Linked DNA regions of Homo sapiens: regions 2, 3, 4 and 5 are each linked to region 1. Evidence: promoter capture Hi-C in human tissues and cell types (Jung and others, 2019). All regions are on one chromosome and are shown on one strand. The core of a region is centred on a gene start or on the middle of the fragment in contact, and the rest is flanking DNA. Distances in the headings are between cores, read along the strand shown.

Region 1 (5,258 bases), core at 2,314-4,813:
CTATAGACAACATCTCAGTTTCATACAGAACTCATTCAATCATATAAAAATAAACACAAATTTACATTGACTCATCAACTATACAATTTAAAAAGGCACTTGGAAGGGGTATTGTATTATTGCATTTGTGGTATGCATTTGAAATAGTTTAAGTACATTAATGAATTTGTAAGAATCCTCTTTTGCACTTATTCCCATCTTTAATTAATTTTCAAAAATTATTAAAATGTTTTAAAATAGTAAGACAATGGAGCATGCGCCAGGAATGTTCAAAGCTAATCTTTCCCTCCTCCCCCAAGGCACATACTGTTAATTGGCAAAAACAAAACAAAACAAAAATACTTTTAATACATTCTCCTGTGTTTTGTTCTTGTTATTTTTTTCCTCCCTTTTAAAAATATACTTTAAAGCACTACAGGTAATCAAAAAAAGGCTTTAGTTCAACAATGGCAACCAGACAACCGACATGTAATGGAGTAAACTTGGAATACTTTTTAAGGCACCTGAGTTCGCGTCTGGCAGATCTCTTCCTATGGGAAATCCTATTACAGACTCTATTACAAAGCAATACTGTTCTTTTCAGTTGAAATGATTTGGCAGCAATGTAAATCTTTGCATTTTTTTAGGAAGAAAAGATGCAATGTGCTTTTCATTTTATCTTTGAAGAGAAAGGTTACTGTCTTTTATTCTCTCAATCTAGCCATCAGCAAATATATAGTAATTTTAAACTTCACATGGAAAGGATTATCTTTAAACACATGAATTCCATGCTCTTGCAGCTCTCTCTCTGTGGGTGTGTGTGTGTGTGTGTGCATATGTGTGTGTGTCTATACATATTATTTGGTTGGTCAGCACAGGAGAAAATGCCTTTGGACTTTATTTGTCATTTGGCTTCGGAGTGAAGAAATGCATTCTGTTCGAGTAAACATTGATTGCGTCACTCAGTGTGCTACACAGCAGCCAGATTCCTCATGTTTGTGCAGGAGAGACATTCTGGAGAAGGTTTTGGAGCAGTTTTTGCACTGGTATTTCTTTACATCAGAATGGGTCTGCAGATGAGCCCTCAGATTTGACCTGTCTGCAAATGCTCTGTTGCAGTGAGGGCAAGAAAAAGGCTTCTCCCCTGGGGGTGGAGTGGGAGAAAAAAAGAAAGACAGTCAGTGTTTTTAGAGGAAACATAAAGTAAAATCATGTTAACAAAAGTCAATCACATTTTGCTTAAATAATGAGAAGCAGCAAAACCTGATTAAAATCCCTCATAATAGACACTTTTAAAAATACCTGAATTTTTAAGATAAACTTGAATATTGCATTTAAAAATCATACACGAATATTATTACTGCTGCCAATCATACAGAAATAATTTACGTAGTTCTTGGACTTTCACTTCTTAAAGCTTTCTGCTTTAGCAGATGCAGCTAATGTTGAGCACCTCCCAACATTTCCCAATATTTCCCCTTTTCCCTCTTTCTGTACTATGATTAAGGTGGTCTAAGTGCCATGATACCCTGCAGAATAATTCTGTGATACGAATAAGAAATTAAGGAGCAAAAAATCCCCAAACAAAGCAAGAGAGGCAAAGTAAATTTAGTTTCAACTATCCAAGTCACCCACGGGTGACAAATATCAGAGCAAGAATGTAACTAACAGAAAACTGTAGGAAAAGCCTTCATCTATTAACCAAATCAATTGATTAAGATAGCAACATTTGTATTTGCTGATTACTGGGGGCAGTTTCACAGAACACACATTCAAGCACATCTTTCCTGATTTTCTAACTGATCTTTGAGACCAAACCTTCTGAATCTACTTTCCAAAGTCTACATGCTGTTTGCAGTCCCTGGAGCAGAGGTTGTTAGCAAGAAATGGAGCACTTTGTGCCCTAACAACTTTTTGAGTAGTCAGGAAGTAGCTATCAATGACTGTCCATCATTAAAAGCACTATGTCACAACTTCATGCAAATCCAACAGCCAGCCCAGGGCTTCATTGTATCTCAGAGTAACATTCCTGCCTATGGTTTTTCTCTTACCCGTGTGAGTTCTAATGTGTCCTTGAAGCAACCAGGGTCTGGAAAACGCCTTGCCGCAGATCTTGCAAACACAAGGTAATGTGTGGGTCCGAATATGCATCTTCAGGGCGCCCAGGCTCACATATTCCTTGTCACAGTATTTACAGCTGAAAGATTTTCTAGACTGGGCATCGCAGTGCAGCTGCTTATGTTTGGCCAGCCCAGAAAAAGTTGAATAGGTCTTATTGCATAAATTGCACTGAAACTTTTCAGCTTCAATGGCATGGGGGTCTGAAAGCTTGGACTGTAGTCTTTCCTCTTCATCACTAATGGGGCTTTCTGAGCCACTGTGGTCCTTGGAGGAGGTGTCAGATGGAGGAGGGGGACTCACTCGCCCCAAAGATGAGGAGTATCCGGAAAGAGGAGAGAGGCCATTGGGTAGCTGGGCGTGGAATGGAGCAGCGGTAGTCCACACAGTGATGGGGCTGTATGCTCCTGAGCTGAGGATCTCTGGTTGTGGTATGACAGGCATGGAGTAACTCTCATAGAGATACGGGGAAATAATCACTGGGAAAGAAAAGGGAGGGAGAGAAGATTAAGGCAAAAATAATTAAAAATAAATCCACACGCAAGTATACACACACTGGAAAGATATTTAGCAACACACACGTGATTTTCTTAGGAAGAAGATAGACCCATTTAGGAGGGCATACACACTGGTAAAATGTTTCATTTCCACCCTGGCACCTACGGAGTTACTGTACTTAATGCACACATAGGCTGACAGCTGCACGGAGCTATAGGTGCTCTGAAGTCAGACAGTGCAGCCAAGCCAGTGCCTTCGCCGTCCCCATTGAGGAAGGAGAGCCTCAACATTATTTTTAAACATACAGAAAAGTTGTTTTCCATGTTACGTATGGGCTATTTAGGTGTATTACGACCGTGAGTACAAAGATATGCCTGCATCAAGCCGCCTTCTAAAGGAAAGGAGACTTAGTGCATGAAAAACGCAGTAATTCAATCCTTATGTTGCTCATCTTTCACATACTCATTATGCATGTATACACAGGCTTTAGCAAACGAAGCTGCGAGATTTGAATGAAATGTTCCTTGTTAGTCAAGAATTTTAAAAGTTTTGAATTAAAACGAACCCTAAATGATCAAAAGAATGTAAGCTCCCTTTCAGGACACTGTTAAAAAGGAAAACAGTTGAATCTTTGGCTCTTTTGTAATGGTATTTGAAGGGTAATACGTAGATTCATATTTGCAAAGCTCTAGATACGTAGTTCTAGATATATTTTTCTCTTTTTACCTGTATGTGTGTCCAGTTCGCTGTAGTTTGGCTTTTTGGAGGCGTTGAAATGCTTCTTGACCAGGAAGGAGCGCGGCATCTTGCCAGCGGGTCTGGCGGGCGCCCGGCGCGGATAACGGTCCGGCGGGAGGACACGGCGGTCCCTACAGCATCGCGGCGGGCCAGGCTCGGGCAGGGGCCGTGCTCAGGTGCGGCAGACGGACGGGCCGGCGCCTCTGAAGTCACCCGGCTCCTTTACGAACTGAGCCCGTTTTGGCTGGGAGGGTTTTTTTTTCCTCTCTTTTGCAAGAAAGATCCAATCACAGCTGAGAGGTTCAGATTTCAGCTCCTCCCTCTGGGACAGCTGTGAACAGAGGAAGAATCTGTTGTCAGACTAAATTATTCTGGTTCAAAATGGGCTGTTTTTTGAGATTTCAGTGGAGAGGAAAAAAAGTGTTTAAGTATTTTCAAGAGAGGTAACCTCGCTCGGTGAGCCCCGCCCGCGATCCACGCTCTCTGGGAGCTAGGAGGGGCGCAGGAGCCGGGGTCTCTGCCCTGCCCGCCTGGCTTCCAGATGTGGTGCAGCGCCAGCGCGCGGGGACACAGTGTCCGCCAGGAGAAGGAAGGGCCGCCCTGCACCACACCAGGCCAGCCTCTGGTGTTAATGAGAGCCTATATTTGGAAGTGGCATCTGGAGAGGTTTGCCTTGCACAAAGACCAAATAATTACCTCTTGGCTTTTGAAAAAGGAAGGGGGAAGCGGGAAGACAAAGGCGCCTGTGAGCGCGGAGGACGCTCTCCTGGGACTCTGGCCTGGAGCGGGACTGCAGCCTTGCGTGCGGCGAGGGCGCTGCGCTACTCAGGGCTTCCGCGAAGCCAGGGGCAGCGCGGCCGCGTGCAAATTAAGTACTCATGTCACCGTGTTAGCTATGGTGGCTTGAAAGAAATGCTTTGTAGCCCTCTAAAGGCAGGCTGATCGGAAGAACTGGAAGATTGCAAAGATAAAAAGGAACTCTGGCAGAGAAGGGGGGCAAGAGGTAACTGTCATTTGGAACCACCGGACATTCTCTCACACTTTTGACAAGAGATCTTATCTTTTCATGTATTACAGTGCATCTTTTTTTTTATGGGAAAAAGGGTTGTATGGGTCTTTAGAGACAATTATTTTTATTTCTAATATTCCCCTGCTTTTATGTGGTGCTATTTTCATCAGTATAAAGCCATTAAAATCCATCTCAGTATCTACCAGTTTCCTGTATAATGCTAAAAAAGAAATTGAAGGATATTATTATGAATATAGATTGATTAAAGTTTTAAGAACCCAGTCTAGTAACTGCAAAAACACCTTTATTTTGTGTATGGTCTTCAATCTAAAAATACTTTCAGGTGGTTTATTTTAAATATAAAATTTCAAGCATATTTTAAAGCATCTCTGTCCATTGCAGACTTTTATCCCTATCTTTTGCTAAAAGAATAAGGAAAGAACAAATTCACATGAAGATCACCCTACTCTTGTTTCTAACAGGTGCTGGAGGAAAAAAGTGAAAAAGAAAATAACAGTGGTGATGTCAAGACTTGTCAGAGAAAAGTGCATTGTCAGGTTGCATAACTTCTTAATCTTGGAATGAGAAAACAAGAGTGTATGTGTGTTTGGAGGGTGAGGTGGGGCACTCACAGATTTCCTAAGCTAATTTCAATGATTATTCTTATTTCTTCCAACAGTCACTAATTTAAATGTCAAACAGAGAAAATAATTCAAAGGAATCCTTATGCTAATGGAACTGTACTTGCAGGAGAGAGGAAAATATGAATACATATTCGATTTCTCCACACACAAACTGGAACCTGGAGTAAAAGCCAGAGGCAGTTTTCTAAGCTTGCTACTCTATGTGAGGGTTTGTTCGGATGTAGGCACCTGGGTTTATGAGAGCAGGAGTCCTCCTTGCTTTTCACTCCATT
Region 2 (5,912 bases), core at 978-3,477, 930 kb before region 1:
TCGTAGAGACAGGGTTTTCACCATGTTGGTCAGGCTGGTCTTGAACTCCTGACTTCAGGGGATCCTCCCACCTCGGCCTCCCAAAGTGCGGAGATTACAGGTGTGAGCCACCGCACCCAGTCTCTTTGTGTAACTAAATATTTCACAGTGACCTGTGGTACTATTTGAGTATTTTAAACCTTTTGACATTTTTTACAACTTCCCAAAATCAACTTCTAAATTAAGTTCTTTTGACCTTGAAATTACTTTGGAATGTTCCAAGGGCCCCTACATTATCTCAAAAGAATTTTTTTCCCTCCTTAGGGAAGATATTAAAATAATTAAGCTTATTTGATATGTTAAATTTGCATAGGAAGTATTATCAAATGAAAAGTGATGTTTTACCTTCTTTAAGTCATACATTTTTGGGTATAGTTAGTACTAGTGTTCAAGAAATTACATAAAGTTCCTAGAAATCTGATAGTCCTGATACCATAGTATTAGTCTTAATTCTAGTTATTATCTTAAAATATTGTATGTCTTGAAATAACAAAATTTCCTTATCAGTATCATTATAATATGAATACCATTTTCTTTTCTCCTAAGCTATCTATTGCTTACAGCAATTTGGTAAGTTATAATTTTGTACAAAGAATGTAAACATTTATCTTTTCTTCCTACTTTATCCCTGCAGAATTCAGAAACTATTAGTATTTTTATTTTCATGGCAATATAATTATTTGCATAAGTTCAGTAAGAATCTGCTCTCTTTGTACCAAGACACAATTGGAAACATTAGTCATGTTACCAAAGCTTTGACTGAAATGTCATATTTTCAGATATAATCACACAACTTTTAGGAACTAAGATTGACTCCATGGAGCCAATACGGCCCCTTGAAGGAAAAAGCTGGCTTTGTATCTTGTACACAAGATTCCCTCACATGTTTCCCTTGCGATGTGTAAGGGACGGTCACTTCGCACAGGCCCAGGAACCTCAGGACATTTTGGGGATCGCAAGAAGAGAGAAAGTCACTGAAACCTATAGGATAGCAGGACCTTGGCTAGGCTTCCTAGGATGGAGAGGCATTTAAAAAAAATAATTAATTAATTTTTTATTAATTATTTGTGCTGCTATAATAAAATATCTGAGACTGGGTAGTTTATAAAGAACAGAATTTATTCCTCCCAGTTCTGGAGGCTGGGAAGTCCAAGAGCAAAGTGCCAATAGGTGTGATGTCTGGTAAGGGCTCAGTCTCTGCTTCCCAGATGGCTACCGGAATGCTGCATCCTCTGGAGGGCAGGAACACATGTGTCCTCACATGGTGTAAGAGGTGGAAAGGGAGCTAGCTAGTTCCCCTGAGCCATTTTATAAGGGCTATCATCCATTCATTACAGCAGAACCCTAATGACCTCATCACCTCTCAAACGTCCCACTTTTTTTTTTTTTTTTTTTTTTGAGACGGAGTCTCCCTCTGTCACCCAGGCTGGAGTGCAGTGGCGTGATCTTGGCTCACTGTAACCTCCACCTCCCGGGTTCAAGCGATTCTCCTGCCTCAGCCTCCAGAGTAGCTGGGATTACAGGCACACGCCACCACACCAGCTAATTTTTGTATTTTTAGTAGAGATGGGGCTTCACCATGTTGGCCAGTCTGGTTCTTGAACTCCTGACCTCAGGTGATCCACCTGCTTCAGCCTCCCAAAGTGCTGGGACTACAGGTGTGAGCCACCGTGTCTGGCCCAGAGTTTTATTATTACTCCAATCGGTCTCCCCGAGAATTCGAGAATTGGAGTTTTTAAGAATAATTTGCTGCCTGGTGCGGTGGCTCATGCCTGTAATCCTAGCACTTTGGGAGGCCGAGGCGGGCGGATTGCCTGAGTTCAGGAGTTTGAGAACAGCCTGCGCAACACGTGAAACCACGTCTCTACTAAAATACAAAAAATTAGCTGGGCATGGCAGCGTGCGCCTGTAGTCCCAGCTACTCGGGAGGCTGAGGCAGGAGAATTGCTTGAACCCGGGGGGTAGAGGTTGTAGTGAGCCGACATCATGCCACTGCACTCCACCGTGGGCGACAGAGTAAAACTCTGTCTCCAAAAAAAAAAAAAAAAAATTTGCTGAGTAGGGGGCCAGTGAGTTGGGAGTTCTGATTGGTCGGGTCAGAGATGGGAGTCAAAGCTGTCCTCTTGTCACTGCTAAGTCAGTTCCTGGGTGGGGGCCACAAGACCAGATGAGCCAGTTTATCGATCTGATTGGTGCCAGCTGATGAATCAAGTGCAGTGTCTGCAAAATATCTCAAGCACTGATCTTAGGTTTTGCAATAGTGATGTTATCCCTAGGAGCAATTTGGAGAGGTTTAGAATCTTGCAGCCTCCAGCAGTATGGCTCCTAAACTGTAATTTCTAATCCTGTGGCTAATTTGTTAGTCCTGCAAAGGCAGTCTAGTCTCCAGGAAGGCTTGTTTTGGGAAAGGGTTGTTGTCTTTGTTTCAAAGCTAAACTATAAACTAAGTTCCTCCCAAAGTTAGTTCAACCTAGGCCCAGGAATGAACAATGACAGCCTGGGGGTTAGAAGCAAGATGGATCTCTTTCATTGTAATATTTCTCAGTTATGATTTTTGCAAAGGCAGTTTCAGTATTTTGTTTTAAATTTCAGATTCTACTTGATGATTGCTGGTATATGGGAAAGCAATTAAAATCAGATGACTCCAAGGATTTTGGCCTCAGCAAGAATGGATTTGTTGTTTACTAAGAAAGAAAAGGTTTCTGGCCGGGCACAGCGGCTCACACCTGTAATTCCAGGACTTTAGGAGGCTGAGGCAGGCGGATCACGAGGTCAGGAGTTTGAGATCAGCCTGACCAACATAGTGAAACCCCATCTCTACTAAAAATACAAAAAATTAGCTGGGTGTGGTGGCGGGACCTGTAATACCAATTACTTGGGAGGCTGAGGCAGGAGAATCGCTTGAACCCGAGAGGCGGAGGTTGCAGGGAGCTGAGATCGCACCACTGCACTCAGCCGGGGCGACGGTGCAAGACTCTGTCTCAAAAAAAAAAAAAAAAAGAAAAAGAAAAAGAAAAAGAAAAGGCTTCCAGTAGAACTCTGTTGGGGAAGAATATAGGAGTTGAATTAAATTTGAGACATCTAATACACAGCCTTTTAGATGCTAACCTGAGTAGGCAGTTAGATATTAGAGCATAGAATTTATGGGAGGGTTTCGGGCTTCAGATAAGAAATTGGGAGTGGAAATATACGGATGCTGCCCAGGCGCAGTGGCTCACGCCTGTAATCCCTGCACTTTGGGAGGCCGAAGCGGGCAGATCACCTGAGTTCTGGGGTTCGAGACCAGCCTGGCCAACATGGTGAAAACCCATCTGTACTAAAAATACAAAAATTAGCGGGGCATAGTGGTGCATGCCTGTAATCCCAGCTACTTGGGAGGCTGAGGCGGGAGAATCGCTTGAACCTGGGAGGCAGAGGCTGCAGTGAGCCGAGATCGTGCCACTGCACTCCAGCTTGGGCGACGAGCGAAACTCCATCTCAAACCAAACAAACAATAAAAAAAAAAAAATGGATGCCACTTAAAGTGATGAGCCTAATTGTGTGATCACCAAGTGAATGTAGAGAGAGATAAAAAGATATCTGTAAGATCAGCCGAGAGAAAGGAAAAATAGACCCAAAGTCAGGTGAGCAAGTTTTTATTAACCTGTCGGCTGCCCCCTTAATAGTCAAGGGAAGCAGCACCAAGCTTACAGAATGAGGGGTTTATATTGGGGAGGGAAGTTTGAGGGAGTTTTTTGGTATGGTTGCATCCCAGGGTTGTTTGCTGGTTAATTTTGCCACATATCACCTTGTGACATTTATTACAGGAGGGTGTAGTAAAGTTTGTTTGTGCTTCCCACAACCTCCCCCTGTGCGGTCTGGATGGTTTGTTATTGGGGTTTGCTTATCGCAGCAAGGTCTGATAAGTGAAGTCTGTTGGCTTCACCGTAGCGACTACATAAGGGCTTAGAAACGTAAAGAGGCTTGGGGAAGGGTGGGCGGCATGGAGAAGAATTGCAGAGCATTGGGGGAGGGGTGGGCAGCACAAAGAAGCTTTCTCGGGGCAGTTGTCCCTCTCATGCCAGACTTTTAATAGGTAATGGAAGAGGGGTGCTGTTATCATCTGGCTGCTTCTTACTGGGAGAGGGCGACAGTTGTCGGGGAAGGCTGGACGGTAGGGACTGCTGTTCTTGGAGCCTCTGGTATTCCTGGAGCAGCATCATATTTTGTATTGTCCCGTGGGTGAAAGCGCTGATAGGGTCCTGTAAAAACTGGGTGAGAAGGCATAGGAGACAAGGGCTGAATGCTAGAAAAAGATGAATGGTTATGGCTGGGCCTAGGACGGGCATTAGCCATGGAAACCAGCTACTAAAGGACTGGGAGGGCCACGCTGGCCATCGCAGGATGTTTTCTTTAATTTTTTGTGCTCGGTCCTTTATATTTTTACAGCATCTTATACTAAGCCAGATTGGTTAAGATAAAAGCAACACTGTTCATCTAGAAAAAGGCATAGTCCTTCTTTTTCGGCTGTGAGTAGGTGTAAGCCTCTGCGGTTTTGAAGAACCACCACCGCTAAAGAATCTATTTGTGATTGGAGAGTATTTGGCTATCTCTTCCAAGCTATCTGTGAGGTCTTTGGAGAGGGATTGGTAATAGGAAATGGAGATGGTTAATCCCATAATCCCAGTTCCAACTCCTGTAGTTATTCCAAGGGCTACTAATAGAGGTATGAATTGTATAGCACGGCAGTGTCGGATAGGGGTATTGGTAGGGGTTGGTCTCCTGGGCAACATTGATTTTTGGACTGAGGAAAACCAGGGTGCAGGTGCCCGTCCAGTTAGAAGGGAGGCAAATATAAGTTGAGGTACCACATAGGAAAAGTATACCTTAGCTTGGTAGACAGAACTGATTGTGTGTGCTAAAAAGATGTATTATTTTGTTATTCTCATGCATCCATACTCCTAGGGTCCTGGCTAGGGCTGCTGGTGTAAGTGGTTGTAAAGGGGTGTTTGGTTTAGTCCGGGAGGCTTTTGGGTTCTTTTTCCTTGTGTAAAAGGAAGCATTTTGTGTCCACTAAGATCCATGTGGGAGTGTTGCTGAATGTTGGGATAAGGAGACAGTCGCAGGTGATGGGTGCAGGGATGGTGCATGGAGAGGGCAGCCAAGGGAAGAGGGATAAACAGGGGAAGTGTCAGCCATTACAGTACTCTGAATTTTTATTAAGGAGGTGGGAGGTGTCAAGGGCCAGGGGGGGCTAGAGAAATGAAGCCTGTCTTTATTGTTGGCAGCTTTGAGAGTAGTATGTTCAGTGGAAGGTTTGAGTCGTAGGGTATAGTTGCACAGTTTGGAATTCAGGTTGCCGAGGGGAATGCCAGAGGGTAGATGTCATTGGACGCCCAGTGGTGCTGCATAGGATAAGATTGTGTGGGTTGTTATGGCTCCTAATATGGGTTTATCATGGCTGTGGTAGGGGGATACGTTGCGTAAGTAGGGATGTAAGGTTGTAAGAGCCAGAACTCGCTAGCTAAGTTGGGGGAGATTTCTGTTAATGCCGGCATGTCGAGTTCGAGGCGGCTGTTAATGAGGATTTCGGGATGGTAGGTTACTTGGGTGGAAGTCCAGTTATAGGCTGAGGCAGGGATTGCATTGTATGTTGTGGAGAAGAGGGATACGCAGAGCCAGCAGTCTCTTGCCAGGGAGGAATTGGAGTTTTTTAGTAAGGAGTGTGTGAGACTAAGTGTTCTGTATAGGTGTTCAGGGGTTATAGGTATTGGTTGGGCTGAAAGAAGGGTTGGGGTATTGATTCTGAGATGGGTTAGAAAGGAAGAGAGTGAGCAGAAAAGTAAATAGTTCGGTTTCACCAGAGTGAAGCCATAGAGAGCCTTGGAAGAAAA
Region 3 (5,117 bases), core at 1,311-3,810, 690 kb before region 1:
CCTGTTTCTCCAAGGGCTCCACCCTGAAGCCAGTAATCCAGTTAAGAAACTGCCAAATGAAAAATCCTACAAATGCTGAACCTTCTGTCTGTTTGTGTCACTATATATGTGTTGTGTGTAATGTCTATAAAAAGAGCTCTAATTGATTGGCTTAAAGAAAAATAAGCACTTTGGCTGGGCGCAGTGGCTCACGCCTGTAATCCCAGCACTTTGGGAGGCCAAGGCAGGTGGATCACGAGGTCAGGAGATCGAGATCATCCTGGCTAACACGGTGAAACCCTGTCTCTACTAAAAATACAAAAAATTAGCTGGGCGTGGTGGTGGGTGCCTGTAATCCCAGCCACTCGGGAGGCTGAGGCAGGAGAATGGCATGAACTCAGCAGACGGAGCTTGCAATGAGCTGAGATCACGCCACTGCACTCCAGCCTGGGTGACAGAGCGAGACTCTGTCTCAAAAAAGAAAAAAAAAAAAAAGAAAAATAAGTACTTAAATCAAATACTTTTTTATTTCATGTGACTTTAATCTTTAAGAAATAAAGAATAGTCTTAAGGATTATTGGTAAAATGCAAGTATCATCAAAATGCAAATAGGTGGTCTAAATTATACAACTTAGATACTAGGTTTGCTACATGTTCTAAGGTTGTATACTGCCTGCTTCAGGAAAGGTAAGGCCTGGAACACATGGAGCTAGATGCTGGAAAGAGTCAAACTTTATCTGCACTCTGTCTGGGTCCTAGGCTCCACACCTGGTACATAATTAAAATTGCTTACTAGGCCGGGTGTGGTGGCTTGGCTGTAATCCCAGCACTTTGGGAGGCCAAGGTGGGAGGATCACTTGAGGTCAGGAGTTCGAGACCAGCCTGGCCAACATGGTGAAATTCCATCTCTACTAAAAATACAAAAATCAGCTGGCTGTAGTGGCAGGTGCCTATAATCCCAGCTACTCGGGAGGCTGAGGCAGGAGAATCACTTGAACCTGAAAGGCAGAGGTTGCAGTGAGCTGAGATTGCACCACTGCACTCCAGACTGGGTGACAGAGCAAGACTCCATCTCAAAAAAAAAAAAAAAAAAAAAAAGATTAGATGGTATTGTCTATAAGGTTTCTTTTAAGCAGTTTGAAGTTAACATTACTAAATTAATGAAATTAATGCAAGGGTAAAATTTGGCTTTGAACAGGATTTTCATGTAATAGTAAAGGCTAATGAAAGGTTTTTGCCTTTTGAGTCATCATTTTGGCAAAACGAATAATTTATGGCAGTTTGGAATTCGATTTCATCATCCCAAAATCAAACTCCAAGTTTCAAAATTGTTTTTCCTGATTCCTGGCTTTCTGGATGGCTCAGAGGGCCTCTGAAACATCTAGAGAAGAGGTGAACAGGATTATTTGACATGTTTAGTTACATGGGATTGCTAAAATGATTGCTAAAAATCTTCTTTAGGTTATATTTTGGTGAATAATACTGATATATTTTCTAAAATTGTATGGGGTTTGTAAAATTCTAATGTCTGAATATATGCTATCAATCATAATTAAGGGTAAAGTTATTGTAAGCCGCAGAGATAAATGAACTCCTTTGTCTGTCATGTTTTTAACTGTATCTATCCTGGAAATTTTGTTTACAGATAATTGTTGTCTTGCTTGGTTCCTTCTCAAAAGATGGGTTATAATCAAGCTATATTAAGGACTTTACTAGGTATTCTCAACTGCGAGTTTTTAATAGCTTTGAAGATTGTAACATTGAAATAGATAAAGAATGTATGGGACTCATGAAGAACTGAAATGTTCATGTATGTCAAGCAAAACAAGAGTTAACTAAATGGACTGCACTCAGAAAGTTAAAGCAACCTTTTTGACTTTTGCTTGAAATATTGCTGATCCTTGTTTCATTTTTGAGTTGAGAAAACTTATTTTGAACTATTTATGGCCTTTAATAACTGAGTAAGGCATACTCCTGTGAACAAAATTTGGAGCATGTTTGTTTCTCTCTGCCTGGTTCCTCTAGAATTTTGAAACTATATGTAAATATGCTTAACTTATGGCAATATAGTTGTTTGCAGCAATGTAATAGGAATCCATTTTTTTTCCCCAAGAGGACACAATTGTAAAAACTGGTTATTTCATCAAGGCTTTGACTGGAAGTGTATGCTTCCCTTTAAGGAGTCAATCTCAACTTGCAGAGCCAATAAAAGCCCTATAGAGAGAACTGGCCTCATACCTTGCCTACACAGTCCCTGCACAGGGTTTCTAACCTGTGGTCAGTAAAGAATGTCACTTTCTTTTGTTGTTGTTGTTGTTGTTTTTGAGACGGAGTCTTGCTCTGTCACCAGGCTGGAGTGCAGTGGCATGATCTCAGCTCATTGCAACCTCCACCTCCTGGGTTCAAGCAATTCTCCTGCCTCAGCCTCCCAAGTGGCTGGGATTACAGGTGTGCACCACGACACCCAGCTAATTTTTTTTGTATATTTAGTAGAGACAGGGTTTCACCATGTTGGGCAGGATGGTCTTGATCTCTTGACCTCGTGGTCCTCCCACTTTGGCCTCCCAAAGTGCTGGGATTACAGGCGTGAGCCACAATGCCCGGCCAAGAATGTCACTTTCTAACAGGTCCAGGAGCTCCCAATTTATCTTGGGACCTTAAGAGAAAAGGATCACCCAACTCACAGGTATTTGAGGATACAAACCCATGGCTGAGCTCAGCTTTAAAAGGTCTTATTTGAGATTCCTTGTGGAAAGGAGCTCCATCAAAGCCAATCAACAAGGCCTATGTTAAAATAAACATTCTTGCTGCACTTTATGCAAATAATCAGGCCAATTATAAGGCTAAAGTTTATTCTACAAATAACATGGTCCTATCATAACTTGTTTTAACCAAAAGGTAGGACTGGAGAGAGAAATTATGTTCCAAAGCTTATTATACATTTGTCATGAAATCCTAGTCTTATTAATTGTTTTTAAGATTTTGGCCTACATTTTAGACTAACCCTGCTTATTCCTGTGAATCAAGTGGTGATCTTCTGCAGCTTGAAAGAAACAAAAAGGAATGGGTAATGTAAAAATCTGAATCAATATGCTACTTCTGGGCAATTATCCTGCAAATTCTGCCAGGTAATAAAAGTGAGTAGGATTCACATAACCTAGAGGTTTCTTGGGGAAAATAAAGCCAAGGAACTTCATAGAACCACAAAGGGAAATTCTGTATGTTGGCAGATAAATTTTAGATGTAAATAATCTACTACATCACCCTTAAAGGAATTGCTGTACTCATTCTACTATTTGCAGTAGAGCTATACATGGTAGCATCTTCTAACTGAAATATTGGACGGAGAGTTTCCATTGCTGTAGTATTGAGAGTTGAAGCCAGCTGGACTTCCTAGGTCGAGTGGGGACTTGGAGAACATTTCTGTCTAGCTAAAGGATTGTAAATGCCCCAATCAGCACTCTGTAAAAACACACCAATCAGCCCTCTGTGTCCAGCTAAAGGATTGTAAACACACCAATCAGCACTCTGTAAAATGGGCCAATCAGCACTCTGTAAAATGGACCACTCAGCAGGATGTGGGTGGGGACAAATAAAGGAAAAAATGCTGGCCACCCCAGCCAGTGGCGGCAACCTGCTTGGGTCCCCTTCCATGCTGTGGAAGCTTTGTTCTTTTTCTCTTCACAATAAATCTTGCTGCTGCTCACTCTTTGGGTTTGCAACACCTTTAAGAGCTGTAACACTCACCACAAAGGTCCGTGGCTTCATTCTTGAAATCAGCAAGACCACGAACCCATGAGAATGAAGAAACTCCGGACACATCTGAAGGAAAAAACTCTGGACATACCATCTTTAAGAGCTGTAACACTCACCGCGAAGGTCTGCAGCTTCATTCTTGAAGTCAGCGAGACCAAGAACCCACCTGAAAGAACCAACTCCAGACACATCTTGGTGACCCAGATGGGACACATCTTGGTGACCATGAAGGGACAATTGCCAAGTGGTGAGTACCATTGGACCCCTTTTGCTTGCTATTTTGTCCTATTTTCCTTTTGGTATTTAGTCCTTAGAATTCGGGGGCTAAATACCGGGCACTTGTCACCAGTTAAAAGCAACTAGCATGGCCACTGGACTAAAGATACGGGTGTCAGGCTTTCTGGGAAAGGGCTTTCTAACAACCCCCAACTCTTTGGAGTTGGGAGGGCTGGTTTGCCTGGAACCAGCTTCTGCTTTTCCTGCATTTCTGGGCTGAGCTGAGGGTCGACAGAGAGGAAAGCCATTCAGCTCTGGGGTCCCAACAAAAAGTTGGTTGACCCTGTAGCCATGAGCAGAACTCTCCAAGTCACGTCGCCCAAGCGAGATTCGCTTATCTATCCTATCTATCCTGACCCTTGCCTTCTGGGTCCTAATGCCTGTGAGACAAACTTCCTCTCACCTCTCTTCTCTGAGGCTAGTCCCACTTCTAAAAACCACTCCTTGTCTCTGGTGCTTTTCTAGTTTCTCCTATAAGAATGATTTCTGGTATAAACTTCAGGACTCTGTTCCCTTCTTTAGGCACCTGGGCTCACCAATCAGAAAGACATAATTTTTGCCCAAAGCCCCATTGGGTGGGGAGACCAACTGTCTTCTTAGGATCCCTCCTCAGACAAGCAGGCCTAACAAAAGCTATTCCTGAAGCTAGGCTATGGGGAGCCTCAGAAATTATATCCTTCCTATTCATGTAAGTGAAGACAAAAGGCGTCACTCTTCCAACCCTGGAAATCCCTTCCCTCCCTCAGGGTATGGCCCTCCACTTCACTTTTGGGGCATAACATCTTTATAGGATGGGCTAAGTTCCCAATACTAACAGGAGAATGCTTAGGACTCTAACAGGTTTTTGATAATGTTTTGGTAAGAGAAACTAAATCTGATTTTTTTTGGTCCTCTTTGTGGTCTAGGAGGACAGGCAAGGGTGCAGGTTTTCAAGAATGTGTTGGTAAGGGCCACTAAATCTGACCTTCCTCAGTCCTCTGTGGTCTAAGAGGAAAACTAGGGTTTCTGCTGCTGCATCAGTGAGCGCAATTATTGTGATCAGCAGGCTCCAGGGACCATTGCAGGTTCTTGGGCAAGAGGGGTTTCTGCTGCTGCATCGGTGAGTG
Region 4 (5,054 bases), core at 493-2,992, 870 kb before region 1:
AGGTGTGAGCCACCATGTCCAGCCAGATCCCTCATTTTTTATGTTGTTCTAGTATTTATTTGGATTTATATGATTAGCAGTTTTGTTTTTCTATGTTTTTGTGTTCAGTTTTCTGAAGCAATATTTGTTGTCACTAGAGTTTAGTACTTTTTCAAGTTTTCTCATATTTAATGAAGGTACTGTCCCCATCTTTAAAATAGAAACAGTGTGAGAATTAAGTGAAATAATGATTAGATAATAGGAGAATACCTGAGTACTTGACTTAGTAAATATTAGTTTGTTTTTCTCCTCTTTTTTTTGCTCTTGCTTTTTATTAGATAACAGAAAAACTTGACTGTTAATTAAAATTTTTTTTTTTTTTGAGACAGTCTTGCTTTGCCACCCAGGCTGGAGTGCAGTGGCGTGATCTCAGCTCACTGCAGTTGCCACCTCCCGAGTTCAGGTGATTCTCCTGCCTCAGCCTCCCGACTAGCTGGGATTACAGGCGTGTGCTACCAATTTTTGTATTTTTAATAGAGACGGGGTTTCACCATGTTGGCCAGGCTGGTCTCGAACTCCTGACCTCAGGCAGTCTGCCCGCCTTTGGCCTCCCAAAGGGCTGGGATTACAGGCATGAGCCACCACACCCAGCCTGTTAATTTAAAATTTAGAGGGGATAAAATCAAAGGTGTCAGAAGTTAGGGTGATATTTACTGTAAGAATTGGATTAGATTAATAGGCTAGCTTTGGGATTAAATTTTTTTTTGTTTACATAAAATCTTTCAGAAAAGAGCTTTGGGTTTTTTTTTTTTTTTTTTTAAACAAAAGGAATTGAGGTAGAATTTACATGTAGTGAAATGCACAGATGTGCCATGAGTTTGACAAATGTAGCTTGTTACCCCTACTGAGATACAGAACATTCCTGTCATTCCAGAAAGCTCCCTTTGCGCTTTCCCACACCTGAGAGATTTGCGTGTTGTAGAGCTTTGGTAAGTAGGGTCATGTAGTGTGTACACTTACGGTTCTTTACTCAGCATGAAGTCTGAGCAATTCAGTTGTGTTATCTCATGTAGTAGGAGTGTGTTTCTTTTTATTGTTGAATAGTATTTTACTGTATGGATATACCACAATGTGTTTATCACTTCTTTTTATGGACATTTGGATTTAATCTACTTTCTTGCTTTTACAAATAAAGCTGCTATGGGCATTCTTGTAGAAGTCTTTTTGTGAACATGTGTTTGTTTCCATTTCGCTTGGGTAAATGCCTAGGAATAGAATTGCTGTATCATAGGGGAGTCTGATATGCATCCAGATTGGAGAATCACAGCCAAGATAATCATGAGATCTATCTGATTTTAGTCATTTTTATATATTGAAAGTGCTGGGGATATTATTAATATTTGCTTGCTATTAATCTCAGATGAGTTTTATATAGCTCTTTTTTTCTTAAAGTATTGAAATATTTAATAACATACATATAACATTGTTGCATAGGTTTTACATTAGAGTAGTTTAATACTGCAAATCTGACCTCCATTTGGATAGCTCTTGTTTATGGGGATGGGATCAGTTTGAGTAGGTGAGATCTGTAGATGGTTGGTTAGCTTCCTCCCTCTCTGGTCTTATACAGCAGCCAGCAGATATTAAATTTTTCACTTTCATTTATTTATGTATATATTTTTATGTTATTTTAATTATAATTTAGAAAATTTAAAGTTTCAATAATTATAATTCTCTTTAAAACAATTTTTTTTTCTTTTTAATCTCTTGAGTCAAGGTGAGGATTCATTTATTTTTTACTTTGCTGTTTTAATGGTACACTAATAAGTTAACAGAGTGAACAAAAGCCATAGCAGAAAGAAGAGTTAATTTATAGGCATGAAAATAAGCCCTGGATAATCTAGAAGCTTTAAGTTTGATACCTATTTGAAAATGATGTGTAAACATAAAGTTTGCCATTGTATCTCTGAATTCAGATAATGGGATTTAATGAACCTCAAAATTAATGAAGTGGCAACGTAAGTATAACTAACAGGGGACATAAAATAATTATGTTTTATTGCTGCAAAATAGTATAATATGGGGTTTTCTCTTTTGCTAGAAGTTATTGATTGCCATATTTAGTAGGATAATCATATAATTTGTTATCCAACAAGACCCTTTTGAGAATGAAAGGAGGCACTGTTAATAGTCAATTCTGGGACAATAGGAATAAGCAGAACTGTTCTGTAAAACAGAAACCTTCATATATGTTTAACACAAGTCTCAAGTAGCCCCTCCCTCTACAATGTAAACTTTTTAGCAAAATCTAAATTTAAGTGGTTTGCTTTTTCGTTTTTCCTTCTTCGTTCTAATTTGTTACAGGCATCATTTTTATCACAAAAGCAACTTGGGATCATATTGATAATACTTTGTAGAATTAATTTTGTAAAATCTCATGGAATTAATTTTGTAAAATCTCAATTTTTAAGTATGCTTATTGCATTTTTTCTCACCATATAGGTGAAATAAATTTGAATGTAGAAAAATAAATTCTTAATCATAAACACTGTCTTACGTACATTCATATTGTACTTTCCCTTTTTTTTTTTTAGCACTTAGACATTAATATTTTAGGTATTGTTATTTTGATTATCTTTTTGTTTTTTGCCTTCCAGACAAATTATGAAAACAGAATATATAGCCTGAAAGTAGAATGTGGACCTAAATACCCAGAAGCTCCTCCGTCAGTTAGATTTGTAACAAAAATTAATATGAACGGAATAAATAATTCCAGTGGGATGGTAAGTTAATATAGTCATTTTGGTTTTATATAACATAATGTATAGAGTTATATATTATACGTACACACACCATAATATATGTAAGATATTAATATGTAGTTAGGAGAAAGTTTTTAAAAGAGGACCTTTGTTAAGCCAAAAGTCTAAAGAAGGTTGCATTATGTTGTTTTTCTTTTATTAATATAAATTAGGCCATCCTTAAAAACCTTAATGTACTTGCCTAGAATAGATGCATGTGGTGGTTAAAACTTTTTTTTTCTTTTCTTTTTTTTTTGAAACAGAGTCTCACTCTGTCACCCAGGCTGGAGTACAATTGTGCGATCTTGGCTCACTGCAACCTCTGCCTCCCGGCTTCAAGTGATTCTCCTGCCTCAACCTCCCGAGTAGCTGGGATTACAGGCACCTGCCATCATGCCCAGTTAATTTTTGTATTTTTGTAGAGACGGGGTTTCACAATGGCCAGGCTGGTCTCGAACTCCTGACCTTAGTTGATCCGCCCGGCTCGGCCTCCCAAAGTGCTGGGATTACAGGTATGAGCCACTGTGCCTGGCCAAAAGTTTTCTTAGGGTTTTAATTGCCTTAATAGTCATATTTCAGTTGATCTTTATTTGGTAAAAAGATGACCATTATTGGGCGGGGCATGGTGGCTCACGCTTGTAGAGATTGTGCCACTGCACTCCAGCCTGGGTGAAAGAGCGAAACTCCGTCTCAAAAAAAAAAAAAAAAAGAGATGATCATTATTTCTCTTTGAATGTTACTTTTCTGAGGGTTAAGGTACATTTGGTGGGATTAAAAGGATGACTGTTCATGAAAAGGATGAATATTCATGAAGGGTTTTTTTCTTTAAAGAGCAAATATGTCTGTGTTGAAACAGTCATGGCTGAGCATCATTGTCTATTTATTTTTGGGTTTCACTCTGTCCCCCAGGCTGTAGTGCAGTGGTACTCCCCCACTTCCTGTGGCCTCAAGTGATTCTCCCACTTCAGCCTCCCAAGTATGTGAGACTACAAGGCACATGCCACCAAGCCCATCTAATTTTTGTATTTTTTGGTAGAGATGGGGTTTCGTCATGTTGGCCAGGCTGGACTCAACTCCTGACCTCAAGTGATCTGCCCACCTTGGCCTCCCAAAGTGCTGGGATTACAGGCGTGAGCCACTGTGTCCAGCCCATTGTCTCTTTAAACAAAATGACATGCCCTGCTTGACCCACACAAGTTAGTTAGTAGAAACAGCTGAATTTCCAGTATGAGTAGATTGTTAAGTTCATGATAAGTCTTTGAAGCCTAGGCTCTCTTGGTGCCATGTTGAGAGCACGCCACATACAAAATACATTTTAGGAAGCAAAATAACATATCATCATCATAAAATGAGTATCATCCATCTTAGGAAATAGGGCCTCAGTATCCTTGATTTCTCATCCCATCCCTGCGTTCCCTCTCTCTACCAGTGTATTTTGTACTACAAATGTATCACATATGTACACAAATTCATCCTCCTTTCTTCTCTCCTTCTCTCTTTCCTTCTCATCTGTTTACCATCTGTTAAAAATCACGAGTTTATACTAACAACTCCCACTAATTTTATTCTAAAACTATAGGGTTTGTTCTATGATTCTTCCTTTCCAGTTGAGAAACCTGGCTCCCATGCTTCCCAGTGCATTTACTTATTTGCTCAATTTCCCCTTCATATAACTGTACTTCTGGCAACAAGTTGAATCTTGGATTCACAGCCAGCTCCCTGCCCCTCAACCCCAACCTAATACGCAGGTCTGAGGCGGGGCCCCAGATTGGCTGGTGCATCCAGCAGGGAGGCACCAGGCCAAATAAAGCATGACCCTGAGAAAGGAAGAAGCTGGGAAAGGTCATTGGAAACCTTAGCCCTGCACCTGCTGGGCCATTAACACCCCCCCACCCCTGTGCCAACTCAGAGCTGGGACCTGAGAGTCTCTCCAGCCCTCACAGTCCTCAGTTGGTCAGTCTTTGTGATTTACTGGGAGCATTTAGTCCATTTACATTTAATATTCTTAATTACTGACATGTTCAGGTTTAAACAGATCATCTTATTTGGTGGTTTCTATTTTTCTACATGTTTCTTGCCTACTTTTGGAATGGTTGTTCTCAACTTCTTTCATTCTGTTTGTGTTCTTTCAGTGATTATTCTAGAAATTATGCACACTTATCTATTTTTAAGAAATTTGATAGGAGCAGGATTATAAAGCATATGAGTACACAGAAAAGATATTATTTAGGGAATGTCCTGTGTGACACACAGCATTGCCTTTATGAAGAAGAC
Region 5 (5,104 bases), core at 821-3,320, 840 kb before region 1:
GTCTTGTCACCCAGGCTGGAGTGCAATGGCACGATGTCGGCTCACCGCAACCTCCGCCTCCTGGGTTCAAGTGATTCTCCTGCCTTAGCCTCCAAGTAGCTGGGATTACAGGCATGTGCCACCATGCCTGGCTAATTTTGTCTTTTTAGTAGAGATGGGGTTTCTCCATGTTGGTCAGGCTGGTCTTGAACTCCTGACCTCAGGTGATCTGCCCGCTTCGGCCTCCCAAAGTGCTGGGATTATAGGTGTGAGCCACCGTGCGCCTGGCCTTTTTTTTTTTTTTTTAGATGGAGTCTCGCTCTGTCATCCAGACTGGAGTGCAGTGGTATGATCTCGGTTGGCTCACTGCAACCTCCGCCTCCCGGGTTCAAGTGATTCTCCTGCCTCAGCCTCCCAAGTAGCTGGGATTACAGGCACGTGCTACCACACCCGGCTAATTTTTGTAGAGATAGGGTTTCACCATGTTGGCCAGGCTGGTCTCAAACTCCTGACCTCAAATGATCCACTTGCCTCAGGCTCCCAAAGTGCTGGGATTACAGGTGTGAGCCACTGTGCCCAGCTGTTTTGTTCATTTTGAAATTTAGGTTGTCTTTTTTTTTTTTTTTTTTTGAGATGGAGTCTTGCTCTATTGCCCAGGCTGGAGTTCAGTGGCACGATCTCGGCTCCCTGCAAACTCTGCTTCTGGGTTCAAGCAATTCTCCTGCCTCAGCCTCCTGAGTAGCTGGGGCTACGGGCATGTGCCACCACGCCTGGCTAATTTTTGTATTTTTAGTAGAGACGGGGTTTTGCTGTATTGTCCAGTCTGGTCTCAAACTCCTGACCTCAGGTGATCCACCCGCCATGGCCTCCCAAAGTGCTGGGATTACAGGCATGAGCCACCATGCCTGGCCCATTTTTTGTTGACTTGTAAGAGTTTTTCTATATGTATTCTGGATACTTATCAAATATATAGCTTATCTGGATCTTATCAAATATATAGCTTGTGAATATTTTTCCCATTCTTTGGATTGTCTCTTTACTTTCTTAATATTATCCTTTGATGCAAAAAAATGTTTTTAATTCTGATGCAGCCCAATTTTTCTATTTTTTTTTTTTTGGTGACTTGTATTTTTGGGATCTTATCTAAGAAACTGTTGCCTAGTCCAAGGTCACTGTAGAGGGTTCTCCAGAGAAACAGAACCAACAGATGAATTGATAGATAGAGATTTATTATGAGGACCTGGCTCACGTGATTATGGAGGTAGAGAAGTATCACCATGTGCTGTCTGTAAGCTGGAGATGCAGGAAAGTCTGAGTTCAAAGACCTGAGAACTGGGAGAGCTGACGACGTAAGTCTTAGTCCAAGGGCAGGTGAAGACTGATGTCCCAGCTGAAACATCAGGTAGAAGGGACAAGTTCTCCCATCCTCCACTTTTTGTTCTGTTCAGGCCCAGTTTTATTTTTCAAGACTGTTTTGGCTATTCTGGGTTCCTTGCATTTTTGTATAAATTTTAGGATCAGCTTGTCCATTTATGCCAAAAAAAAAAAAAAGGGCTGTTGAAGTTTTGGTAGAGATTGCAATGAAGCTGTAGATTGCTTTGGGGAGTATTGCCATCTTAATATTACATCTTCCAACACATGAACATGAGATGACTTTTCATTTACTTATATCTTCTTTAGTTTCTTTTAACAATATTTTGTGGTTTTCAGCATATAAGTTTGCACTTCCATTTTAGTTTATCCCTACATATGTTACTCTTTTTGATGCTATCATACCTGGAACTGTTCTCCTAATTTGAATTTTGGATTATTGCTACAACTGGTTTTTGTATATTGGTCTTGTATCCTGCAATTTTGCTGAAGTAGTTTATTAACTCTAATAGCTTTTCTGCATAAACTATTTAGGCTTTTCTATATCTAAGATCCTATTATTTGCAAATAGTTTTTCTCCTTTTCCAATCTAAATACTTTTGATTTCTTTTTTTGTCTAATCGCTCTTCCATTATCTTTTTCCCCTAACTTTACAATTGGTTCATTGGGATATTAAATGCATTTTTGAGTTATGATGGGTTGATCAGCACATAACACCATCGAAAATCCAGGAGTAGCTATATAAGGCAAAAAAGGTGTAACTAATGAAAGGATACTGAATGACTTGAAAGAAACCAGTAGATGTTTACAATTGACGGGGAACCATGGGAGAGAGACTCTGGTACATAACAACAGTGAAATCGTACTGAGAACTCTGAAGGATTTGACATGGAAACATAGGAAACATACAAGAAGTAAGAAAGGGAAGGAGGGAAGAAAGTAAAAGAAGGAAAGGGGGAGGAGTAAGGAAGGGAGGAAGGGGAAGACGCTTGGTGGTACTAAAAGCAGAAACTTAATCAGTTTCTGAAATTTAAACATTTGAAATAGGAGATAAAAAGGGAAATTTTGGCATATTTCAACTATAGTGTGGACTTGAATGTCGAATAGAAGAAATATCTCAAAACAGAGCAAAAACGCAAAGATCATGACTAGGAATATGAGTCCTGAAGGAGAGTTCTTGGAGAACTAAATGTGAAACATAAATATCAATTATCAATATCAATATCAATAAAAACAAAAACCACATGACAATCTCAATCGACACGAAAAGTGCATTTGAAAAAATACAGCCCACTTCATAATACGAATGCTTAAAAAACTGTAAACAGAGGGGAGCTTCCTTAACCTGATAAAGAACAGCTACACACACACAAAAAAAAACCTACAAAAGACCAATGTTTAATGGCAAAATACTGAATGTCCCCTTCACGTCATGAATAAGAAAGACAAAGATGTCCACTTTTGCTACTTCTATTCAAGATTGTACCAGAGTTTCTAGCCAGGGAAATTAGGCAATAAAAGGCATCTAGATTAGAAAGGAAGAAGAAAAACAATCTCTATTCCCTGCAGACATTATCCTACATATAGAATATCTTAAGGAAACCATTAAAACAACTATTAGAACTAAGAAATGCGTCCAGCAAGGTTTCAGGATACAAGATCAATATACAAATATGAATTAAATTTCCACACAATAACAATGAACAGTCTGAAAATGAAATTTAACAATTCCATTTACAATAGCATCAAAAAGAATAAAATACTTGCAATAAGCCTGACCAAAAAATACAAAACGTATACCTTGAAAACTACAAAATATTGTTGAAATTATAGATGGCATAAATAAATGGAAAGACAAAAAACGTTCGTGGATGGAAAGACTTCATATTGCTGGGATGGTAATAATTCCCAAAGTGTTCTACACATTCTGATAGTGACAGGAGGCAGCCAAATGCCCAGGCAGATAGGGGCGAGTCCCCGGTGAAACCCCACCCCCAAGCTGAAGGCAGTTTAAAGCTTGAAAGCCAAGCTACAAGTTAAATCTTCGGACTGGATTGAGAACCTGTCTTCCCATTTGTCATGCTTTCTCCTCTGATTGATCCCCACCCTTCATCTATTTTACGTATACCTAATCTTTCCTAATTGATTTTCTACACTGTCATGTCCACCTTTGAGTGGTGTCTTTGCTTTAACCTTTTTCGCATACTCACAAACCAATCAGCAAACATTTCCCATTCTGAATTCATAAAAAGCCCAGGGCCCAGCCACGCTGAGAGAAGAAAACCACCCGACTGCGGAGGTGGGGGACCCCCTTACCCACCCTTCCGCATCGCCTCTCCACTGAGAGCTATTCCACTGCTCGATAAAATTCTCCGCCTATCCTTACCCTTCAACTGTCAGTGTATCCTCATTCTTCTTGGACACAGGACAAAAACTCAGGAGCCACCAAGCTGTAACACAGGTGGGCTGGGGCACCACCAGTGGCAGTCCCGGGGCTGAGCAAGGTCCGGGGTTGGGGGGGTGTCGCCGGCCAGAGGTCCCGACTGGCAAAGTAACTGAGATAATTCCTGTGTCAATTCCACATACTTCCCATCAAAAGCCTAGTTGGCGAGTTCGCAGAAATTGGTAAGCTGATCCTAAAATTCATACAGAAAATGCCAAGGACCCAGAATAACTAAAACAATCTTCAAAGAAATAAACAGAATTAGAAGACTCTTCCCTATGTTAAAGCATCCTGCAAGATAACAATAATCATGACCATATGGTACTGGGATACAGACATAGAGATATAGATGAAGGGAATAAACAGAGCCCAGAAGTAAGCCATTACATTTGCAGTCCATTGATTTTCAGAGTGTGCTGAGAAAACTAATTGTGGGTAGGAACCCTTTTTTTTTTTTTTTTTGAGATGCAGTCTCACTCTCTTGCCCAGGATGGAGTGCAGTGGTGTGATCTCAGCTCACTACAACCTCTGCCTCCCGAGTTCAAGTGATTCTCCTGCCTCAGCCTCCCGAGTAGCTGGGATTACAGGTGGGCACCACCATGCCTGGCTGATTTTTGTATTTTTGGTAGAGACGGGGTTTGACCATGTTGGCCAGGCTGATCTCAAACTCCTGACCTCTCAGGTGATCCACCCGCCTTGGCCTCCCAAAATGCTGGGATTACAGGCATGAGCCACCGTGGCTGGCCAGGAATCCTCTTCTTATCAAATGGTGCTGGCACAATAGGATACCCTCATACAAAAGAATAATGTTGGATACCTTTCTCAGACCACACACAAAAATTAACTCCAAGGTGACTATGGATCTAAATTTAAGAGCTAAAAAGATAAAATCTGGCCGGGTGCAGTGGCTCACGCCTGTAACCCCAGCACTTTGAGAGACTGAGGCAGGCGGATTACCTGAGGTCAGGAGTTCCAGACCAGGCCTGGCCAACATGGTGAAATCCTGTCTCTATTAAAAAAAAATACAAACATTAGCCGGGCGTGGTGGCACGTGCCTGTAATCTCATCTACTCAGAAGGCTGAGGCAGGAGAACTGCTTAAACCCTGGAGGCAGAGGCTGCAGTGAGCCGAGATTGTGCCATTGCACTCCAGCCTGGGCAACAGAGCGAAACTCTGTCTCAAAAGAAAAATAAAAAAATAAAGATAAAATCTTAAAAAATAAAAAATAATAAAACAAAAAAAGATAAAATCTTAGAAGAAAATATCACTGCAGGTGAGATGAAGGCTTTTAAGATGTGGCATCAAAACCAC

What was found. Contacts are between HindIII fragments. The study calls those that stand out against the background at their distance.
Region 2: a fragment that was not itself captured here is called in contact with the fragment with the promoter of SNAI2 in region 1 in 1 of the 25 tissues and cell types used here (mesenchymal stem cells).
Region 3: a fragment that was not itself captured here is called in contact with the fragment with the promoter of SNAI2 in region 1 in 2 of the 25 tissues and cell types used here (dorsolateral prefrontal cortex and mesenchymal stem cells).
Region 4: a fragment that was not itself captured here is called in contact with the fragment with the promoter of SNAI2 in region 1 in 1 of the 25 tissues and cell types used here (mesenchymal stem cells).
Region 5: a contact is called between a fragment that was not itself captured here and the fragment with the promoter of SNAI2 in region 1, in 1 of the 25 tissues and cell types used here (bladder).

Annotation. Positions count from the first base shown.
Region 1 is chr8:48,917,866-48,923,123 of GRCh38, forward strand. SNAI2 (snail family transcriptional repressor 2) reads right to left here and starts at 3,564. Exons shown (of 3, transcript NM_003068.5): 1 at 3,322-3,564; 2 at 2,031-2,576; 3 at 1-1,123. The coding sequence starts at 3,400. The coding sequence ends at 942. LOC107986942 (a long non-coding RNA gene) reads left to right here and starts at 3,692. Exons shown (of 4, transcript XR_001745895.3): 1 at 3,692-4,336; 2 at 4,825-4,899. RefSeq lists an enhancer at 3,675-3,754. The HindIII fragment of the contact is 3,481 bases long and covers 1,852-5,258 here.
Region 2 is chr8:47,985,370-47,991,281 of GRCh38, forward strand. UBE2V2-AS1 (UBE2V2 antisense RNA 1) reads right to left here. Exons shown (of 4, transcript XR_928850.3): 4 at 3,659-4,289. Among named protein-coding and RNA genes, the nearest start is that of UBE2V2-AS1, 11 kb to the right of the region's middle. The HindIII fragment of the contact is 3,339 bases long and covers 559-3,897 here.
Region 3 is chr8:48,229,479-48,234,595 of GRCh38, forward strand. No RefSeq gene overlaps it. Among named protein-coding and RNA genes, the nearest start is that of UBE2V2, 220 kb to the left of the region's middle. The HindIII fragment of the contact is 4,066 bases long and covers 528-4,593 here.
Region 4 is chr8:48,047,217-48,052,270 of GRCh38, forward strand. It overlaps UBE2V2 (ubiquitin conjugating enzyme E2 V2), which reads left to right. Exons shown (of 4, transcript NM_003350.3): 3 at 2,637-2,762. Among named protein-coding and RNA genes, the nearest start is that of UBE2V2, 41 kb to the left of the region's middle. RefSeq lists a silencer at 880-1,080. The HindIII fragment of the contact is 3,610 bases long and covers 1-3,547 here.
Region 5 is chr8:48,077,393-48,082,496 of GRCh38, forward strand. No RefSeq gene overlaps it. Among named protein-coding and RNA genes, the nearest start is that of UBE2V2, 72 kb to the left of the region's middle. The HindIII fragment of the contact is 9,830 bases long and covers 1-5,104 here.